Regions from separate parts of the Homo sapiens genome. Here region 1 is linked to region 2. The links are contacts of gene promoters, found by promoter capture Hi-C in human tissues and cell types (Jung and others, 2019). All regions are on one chromosome and are shown on one strand. Each heading gives the region's core, a stretch centred on a gene start or on the middle of the fragment in contact. The rest is flanking DNA. Distances are from core to core; before and after follow the strand shown. Region 1 has its middle 26 kb from the start of C1orf146. Region 2 holds the start of EPHX4 (epoxide hydrolase 4).

The links. Contacts are between HindIII fragments. The study calls those that stand out against the background at their distance.
Region 1: a fragment that was not itself captured here is called in contact with the fragment with the promoter of EPHX4 in region 2 in 1 of the 25 tissues and cell types used here (dorsolateral prefrontal cortex).

The regions. Positions count from the first base shown.
Region 1 is chr1:92,189,636-92,193,681 of GRCh38, reverse strand. No RefSeq gene overlaps it. Among named protein-coding and RNA genes, the nearest start is that of C1orf146, 26 kb to the left of the region's middle. The HindIII fragment of the contact is 9,202 bases long and covers 1-4,046 here.
Region 2 is chr1:92,027,118-92,031,354 of GRCh38, reverse strand. EPHX4 (epoxide hydrolase 4) reads right to left here and starts at 1,370. Exons shown (of 7, transcript NM_173567.5): 1 at 1,045-1,370. The coding sequence starts at 1,275. It overlaps LOC124904218 (a long non-coding RNA gene), which reads left to right and starts at 968. Exons shown (of 2, transcript XR_007066222.1): 1 at 968-1,990; 2 at 4,151-4,237. RefSeq lists an enhancer at 1,170-1,671. The HindIII fragment of the contact is 17,230 bases long and covers 1-4,237 here.

The DNA.
Region 1 (4,046 bases), core at 856-3,355, 160 kb before region 2:
CTGTGAAAAATAACATTGGAATTTTCATAGGGATTACATTGAATCTGTTGATTGCTTTGGATAGTATGGACATTTTAATAGTATTCTTCAAATCCATAAACACAGAATATCTTTCTATTTACTTGTCTTCAATTTATTTCACCAATGTTTTATAGTTTCCAGTGTACATATCTTTTACCTCTTTGGTTAAATTTATTCTTTTTTTGGTGGGGGGTTGCTACAGAGGCTCACTCTGCTGCCCAAGCTAGAGTGCAGTGGTGTGATCTCGGCTCACTGTAACCTCTGCCTTCTGTGCTCAAGTGATTCTCCTGCCTCAGCCTCCCAAGTAGATAGGATTACAGGCACACGCCACTGTGCCCGGCTACTTTTTTGTATTTTTCATAGAGACGGGGTTTCATCGTGTTGGCAAGGCTGGTTTCAAACTCCTGACCTCAGGTGATCCACCTGCCTCAGCCTCCCAAAGTACTGGGATTACAGGCGTGAGCCACCATGCCCAGCCTTTTTTTTTTTTTTTTTTTTTTGAGACAGAGTCTCACTCTGTTGCCCAGGCTGGAGTGCAGTGCAGTGGCAGGATCTCGGCTCACTGCAACCTCTGCCTCCCAGGTCCAAGTGATTCTCGTGCCTCAGCCTCTTGAGTAGCTGGGACTACAGGTGCCTGCCACCACACCCAGCTAAATTTTTTTGTATTTTTAGTAGAGATGGGGTTTTGCCATGTTGGCCAGGCTGTTGATATGAACAGGAGACAGGGAAATGCTGGGTAGAAGAGGATGGTTCCCCGGCAAAAACCCCACCCTTAAGCACAGATACCCCCACAGCCCTAAATAAGAAGAGGCATTTCTGTTTTCACACCCTGTTTCACCTTTTGGCCCACCACACCCCTATCCTGTCCCCATATAACCCCCTGAACCTCAAACTCCAGAGCAGATTAGCAAGTGAGGAGACAAGGAGGCAAGCAGACGGGTAGTGGAACAAAACGTGGAGGAGAAAGGGAAAAGAAGAGAAACGTCTGGACATCAAAAGGAATTCAGATGGGGGTGGTTGGAGAAGAGTCTGGTGGCTGGGCAGCCTGGCTCCAGGAGAAGATCACCTTCTCACTCCATCTCCCTTTCTGGCTCCCCATCCATCTTGCTGAGAGCCGCCTCTACCACTCAACAAAACCTCGCATCCATCCTTCAAGGCCGCGTGTGATCCGATTCTTCCAGGACACTGGGCATGATCTCAGGATACAGAAAGCTGTCACACTGGCCCTCTGCCCTTGTGATAAGGCAGAGGATCCACTGAGCTGATTAACACTCAAGCCATCTGCAGACGGCAAAGCTGAAAGAGCTTCATAACACTAGGGTTGCAGGCACCCACTCCTAGACACTACCGTGGAGCTGGAGCCCGAAGCACTGGCCCCGACCTCTGCACCTGCCCATCTGCATGCTCCCCCTTTCTCAAGGGAGCCACACCCCTGTTGCACATCCTGCCTCCTGCAAGGGGAATCAAGCAACTCTCCCCTTTCACTGGTCTCAACTCCTGACCTCAAGTGATCTGCTTGCCTCAGCCTCCCAAAGTGTTAGGATTACAGCCATGAGCTACCACGACCGGCCATACACCATTTTATATAAAGACCTTGAACATCTGAAGATTTTGCTATCTGTAGGGGTTCTGGAATCAATCCCCTGGAAATACCAAGGTACTATTGTGCAGAAATAGCTTGATTGGTTACAGCTGTGAGTCTGCCTTATTTGGACATGGTCTGATCAGTTGGTAGCCTGTGATAGCAGAAGCTCAGCTGTTTAGGATTGGCTGAGACTCAGTTGTTTATTATACTCTTAAATTAGTTTTCAGTTTGTTATGTACTAAGTTAAGTTGCAGTTTCTTAAGTAGAAACTCAGATTATGGAGACAACCTCAGACCAATGGTCTCCTGCTTATTTAACAAAGTAGATTGTGCATGTATATATACACACATATATATGTATGTATATATTTCATCTCCCCAGTTGACTAGATTATATTTTTGAGAGCTGCATGGATGTAAGTAAAAGAATAATTTTGTGGAGTATTAGACATTTTCTTTCTTAAGCATGTAATTGTTTAAATGCAGGTATATTTCAGTTGCATTTTTTTTTAACTCAGCTCATTTGCCAGGCTAAAATTAAGCATGGAATTGAAAGAAAAGAGGTAAACTTCAGTACAGTCTATATTCATGACAGCCCTTATCTGGAAAAATGTCATGTCTCTGAATAAAAAGATTGTTTTTCCTAGTATATCCCTGATTTGGAAATTCAATGTTTAATTGATTGGGATGGTGTTATGAAAATACAGCATCAGGGGCTGGGCAGGGCTGGGCCACACCTGTGATCCCAGCACTCTGGGAGGCTGAGGTATGAGGATTACTTGAGCCCAATTCAAGACCAGCCTGGGCAACAAAGTGAGACCCCATCTCTAAAAAAAAAAAAAAGCCAGGCATGGTGGTGCATGGTCGTGCATGTGGTAGCTACAGGGAGGCTAGGGTGGGAGGATTTCTTGAGCCCAGGAGGTCAAGGCTGCAGTGAGCCGTGATTGTGCCACTGCACTCCTGCCTGGGCAACAGAGCAAGTCCGTGTCTCAAAAATAAAAATAAAAATACAGCATCAGAGTAGAATTGAAATTCTCAAATTAGAATTAAAATTCTTATGCTAATATTGGTTAAGTTTGGAAGTAATTAAGAAACCACTCTATGAGAGGTAAATCACAAACACTAAACACTAAAACTCGTACAATATTAACATGATAGAAATGTACACTTTTCATACCTAGCTAAGCCAGATTCAAAATAGTCTTGGTATTTGAATTTACAAAATAAAAAGTATATAACTGGAGAAGAATATATAGATAATCAGAACTCCAAAATAGCCCCTGCAATAGATCAAAACTGAGTCAAATAAAGTACCCTGCCCTCCCACCCCCTACCCCCCCGCCAAAACTAGCAGGAGATGGAGTGGCGGTTATTAAGATCATGGTTTATTAGGTTTCTGAATTTTGAAAGACAATATATTATGTATCTTGGGTGTGTCAACTGCATCTCAAATGTGACATGTCCAAATTGAAAATTATCTTTTTTCCAACCAGGAACCATCAGCTTTCCATTCATCATAACCTGTTAGAATGCAAGTGATCTTAATGAAACAGTCCTATTTGTTTGCCTTTGATTTTTAAATTCTTCAGATGTTTGCCTAAATGGCTTGCTCATAGTCTTTGTCCACCACCTACAGGGCTCATCATGTGTTGGTCTGCCGGCGCATTTCCAGCTTTATCTTCACTGCTGTCCACACGCATTTGGTGCTTTAGATATTCAACACCTGAAGTTCCTTGAAATGCCACCTATCAGTTGATACTCTTTGTGCTTAATCTTACTTCCTCTTGCCTCTTTCTTGATGATCCTTGATTCATTGATCATTTCCAACTTTTTATTTTTAAAGTGCTGAAATCATTTTTATCTTAAAAACAGCAATATCTTCAAACTACCACTGTCTCCTTTTCAGTCAAGCTCCTTGAAAGAATAAGTATTACTTATTTCCTATTCACCCTTCAACCCACTAGTCTAGTTTCTGCCCCACTACTGATCTTTTAAAAGCCAGTAATTAACAAAAAGCACAAATAAAATCCTAATTTTCAAATCAAATGGACTAGTCTAAGTGTGTGCCTTAATTAACATCTCAAACAGCATTTGAAACTGTTTACTACTATTTACTTAAAAATGAACACAACTACTTATTTTTCTGTGCCTTGTAGAAGACATTTAAAATATGAGTTAAAAGATAAAGCTAAGTGCAGCAGTAGGTGCCTTGTAGTCCCAGCTACTTGGGAGGCTGGGATTATAGGTGTGAGCCACCATGTCTGGCCTTCTTTCTTTCAAGATCACATGAGATTGGACGCATTCAGGGTGGTATGGCGGTAAACAGGCCTTGTTCCTTAATGGTAGATCCCAAGAGGAGAAAGGGCTAAAGATATAAAGCTACAAGCCTGGCATGGTGGCTCACGCCCATAATCCCAGCACTTTGGGTGGCCAAGGCAGAA
Region 2 (4,237 bases), core at 121-2,620:
ACGATGGCTTCCTAGAGGTTCAATAACTTTTTTTATTGGTGGTGAGTCTTGGAGGATTAAATGTTATGGGCACTGCAATGGATTTAATTAACAGATACTTTATTGCACTGACTATGCATCAGGCATTGTTCTAAGTTTTTCGTGTTTGTTTTTATAAATATTAACCTATTTAATTCTCATGTCGACCCCAGGCAAGAAAGAAGTTCTCTTGCCCTTCTGAACTTCAGCTGCGGGGCAATTTAGCTCCTAACAGGAAATAAGGACTTGGTGACATAAACATCCCCTCTTATGAGGCTGGGTTTGAAAGGCCTGTGAGTCAGACTGCAGGGTGTATCACGGGAACTATTTCCCTTCACCACCTGGAGCCTCAGGAAACAGAATATTTGTGGGCTGTGAGGAAGCTTGAACAATTAGCGTCTGCAGGCATGGCTGGATTTACCTTTTATTCCATTCCTTTCTTTGGTCCCTGACTTCATAAGTATGCATTCCTCCCCACAACACACACAATTTACTTATTGTTTCATGCAACCTAAGTCGTCTGTGATCATAATAAACTCATGACTCCCAAAGACTGACTGTTTACTCTTATTATCTCTAAAATTGGGCAAGAACAGCCTCCTGAGACATTAGGATGCCACGAGGAACAATTCTCTACAGCTGATCTGAGCTCTAAAGGGCAAAAGGGTGACAGGAGACAGCTTCCCCTTGCAGTAGGAAAAAGAGCAGGTTTATTCTGGGTTGTTGTGGCGCCGGGGGGCAGTAATATAAGAGGCCCCTGATTAGAGAAGTTCCACATTCAGAAACCAATCAAGGTGCCTGCAAAGACCGAGTGCTGTTTATCTGTATCTCTCTCTCTCTCTCTCTCTCTCACACACACACACACACACACACACACACGACACACAGGGACCCAACCCCTCCTCCCCTCCTGCCAGGACACTAGGGGACGCTGAGCCAGCGTCTCGGAAGGAGAAGCCCGGAGCCCCCCACCCTCGCGGCGGTCACGCTCCCTCCCGCTCCCGCCAGGCCCGCGCGGCCCTTCACCTTGATCCGCACGTAGCAGTGGGTGCCCAAGGAGGGGTCGCTCAGGCACGCGGGAGGGTGCTCCCGGGCGGGCCGCCGGAAGGTCTGCGCCGGCCCCTTGCCGAGGCTCCACAAAAGTTTGAGCAGGTGGATGGAGGCGCAGAGCCCGCAGTAGCAGTAGACCAGGGACCAGAAGAGCAGGGACCGGAGCGTGAGCATCAGGCGGGGCAGGCAATCCCGCAGCCTCGCCATTGGGAGGCGGCGGCGGGGCCCACTGCCCTTCCTCGGGAGCGGGTGAGCGAGCGCCGCAGCGCGCCAGGCCAGCCCGCCGTCGCCTCTCGACGCGCGCCTCCCCCGGCCCGGGGCGGCCGGCGTTCCGTGTCACCGCGGCGGCTCCGCACACGCGCCGCGCCCAGCCCGGAGCGCGCAGGGGAGAGCCGGGCCTGCGGGGTGCGGCGGGCCAGGCCGGGGTGCAGAGCTTGGCTGTCTTCCGCGGAGAGCGAGATCCCGTTTCAAAATCGCAAAACTGTGGGGGAGGATGAAGGCGAGACTTTCCCAAACCATCCTGGGCACCAAAGAAGGTAGCGCCACTCAGTCTTCTTTGTTGTTCTCAATGTATCAAGCAAAACTATTTCTAAGCCCACATATTCGTGTGTCATAGTTCAGGGACACAGGTCAGCGACAAACTTCCATGCTATTACACCCAAAGAGATTCTTTAGAGTGCAAAATCACTCTGCACTCTGAAAGATACCAGCCTTCCTCTTCTCAAAATCTTTCGTGGAATCATAATTTCTGTAGAAATCCGCCTATGCCTTGCCTGGTTCAGCCACAGCAAACTTACAGAGAGCTGCAACCCCAGGGATACAACGAATGCTTCAACAACGTGACGCGGCAGAAGCCTGGCCAGAAGGCCACACACCTGAGAGTTCGTCGAAGGGCTGGAAGCCGTGAGAGTGACAGTCCTCGGTAGGTATCTCAGCCTCAGCACCGACATGGCCACTCTTGTCCTGACCTCTTCTATCGTCCAGTTCACTGTTAGAATTTCATTAAGCCTTTTCCCAATCACCGGGTCAGGTATTAAGTGTTCATTTTTTATGAGAAACTGTCAAACTGGTTTCCAAAGTGGCTGTACAATTTTGAATTTACTTCAGCATGTGTGAGTTATACAATTGACCTTTGAACAATGCGGGGGGTTAGGGTTGCTGAACCCTTTCACATCTGAAAATCCATGTATAACTTTTGAGTTCCCCCAAACTTAAGTACTAATAGCCTACTACTGACCAAAACAATTAACATATGTTTATGTATTACATACTGTATCTTTATAATTAAGAAAAATGTTAAAATCATAAGGAAGAGAAAATACATTTACTATTCATTAAGTGGAAGTGGATTATCTTAAGAGTGTTCATCCTTGTCATCATCAGGTTAGGTAAGCTGAGGAGGAGAAAGAAGAAGGGAGGTTGATCTTCCTGTCTTGGGGTGAGGGGGAGGGAAGAGGTGGAAGAAAATCCATGTGTAAGTGGACCTACACAGTTCAAACACATGTTGTTTGAGGGTTAACTGTATTTTGCTCTTTTTTTCTAGGGTCTTGAGTTAGGAACTTATTGAGACCTTTGCAATTTCTAATGCAATCATTTAGCACCTATACATTTCTCTCAGTACTCTTTTTATTTTATTTTTTGAGACGGAGTCTCACTCTGTCGCCTAGACTGGAGTGCAATGGCGCGATCTCCATCTCAGCTCACTGCAAGCTCCGCCTCCCGGGTTCACGCCATTTTCCTGCCTCAGCCTCCTGAGTAGCTGGGACTACAGGCGCCCGCCACCATGCCCGGCTAAGTTTTTTGTATTTTTGGTAGAGACGGGGTTTCACCGTGTTAGCCAGGTTAGCTCGTGAACCGCCCGCCTCAGCCTCCCTAAGTGCTGGGATTACAAGTGTGAGCCACCGCGCCTGGCATCTCTCAGTACTCTTTAATCGTATTACATATGTGTTGATATGTTGTATTTTGCCATTTGTTATGTATTTTTTAAAATGTCCTGTTTTAGGTTGGGTGCTGTGGCTTACGCCTATAATCCCAGCACTTTGGGAGGCTGAGGCAGGAGGATCGCTTGAGCTCAGCAATTCAAGACCAGCGTGGGCAACATGGCAAAACCCTGTCTCTACAAAAAATAGAGAAATTAGCCAGGTGTGGTGGTGCACGCCTGTAGTCCCAGCTACTTGGGAGGCTGAAGTGGCAGGATCGCCTTAGCCCTGGAAGGTTGAGGCTGCAGTGAGCCAAAATCATGCCACTGCACTCTAGCCTGGGTTAAAGAGTGAGATTATGTTTCAAAAAATGAAAAACAAAACAAAACAAAACAAAAAACAGGGCCGGGGGTGGTGGCTCACATCTGTAATCCCAGCACTTTGGGAGGCTGAGCTGGTCAGATCACCTGAGGTCAGGAGTTTTGGACCAGCCTGGCCAACATGTTGAAACCCCATCTCTACTAAAAATACAAAAAAATTAGCCAGGCATAGTAGTGCACGCCTGTAGTCCAAACTACTTGGGAAGCTGAGGCATGAGAATTGCTTGAACCCGGGAGGCAGAGATTGCAGGGAGCTGAGATTGCACCACTGCACTTCAGCCTGGGTGACAAAGGGAGACTCCGTCTCAAAAAATAAATAAATAAAAAAAAACAAAGATTCCTGTCTTCCTCCTTGCCCCATTGTGTTTTTAATGTGTTTAGCAATTTTTCTATTATTACTTTCAGTCCTCCAAACTCTTAACTCATAACACATTAAATTTTTAAGAGATAGAGATCTTGCTATGTTGATCAGGCTGGTCTTGAACTCCTGGCCTCAAGCAATCCTCTCACTTTAGCCTCCCAAAGTGCTGAGACTACAAGCATGAGGTACTGTGCTTGGCAGTCCATTATTGACTTGTATCTGATTCTATTATGGCCCAAGAACATACTCCACATGACCTCTATTCTTTTAAATTTGTTTTATGATCTGGGATATGGTCTATCTTGGTGAATGTTCCATGGTTGTTTAAAAAAAAAAAACGTGTGGATAAGAGTGTTCTACATTTGCCCGCTAGATCATGTTGGCTGCTTGTGTCCTACCTTTTTTTTTTTTTCTTTTTCAAGAGACAGGGACTCGCTGTTACCCAGGATGGAGTGCAGTGGCTATTCACAGGTGCAGTCATTAAGCACACTGCAGCCTCGGACTCCTGG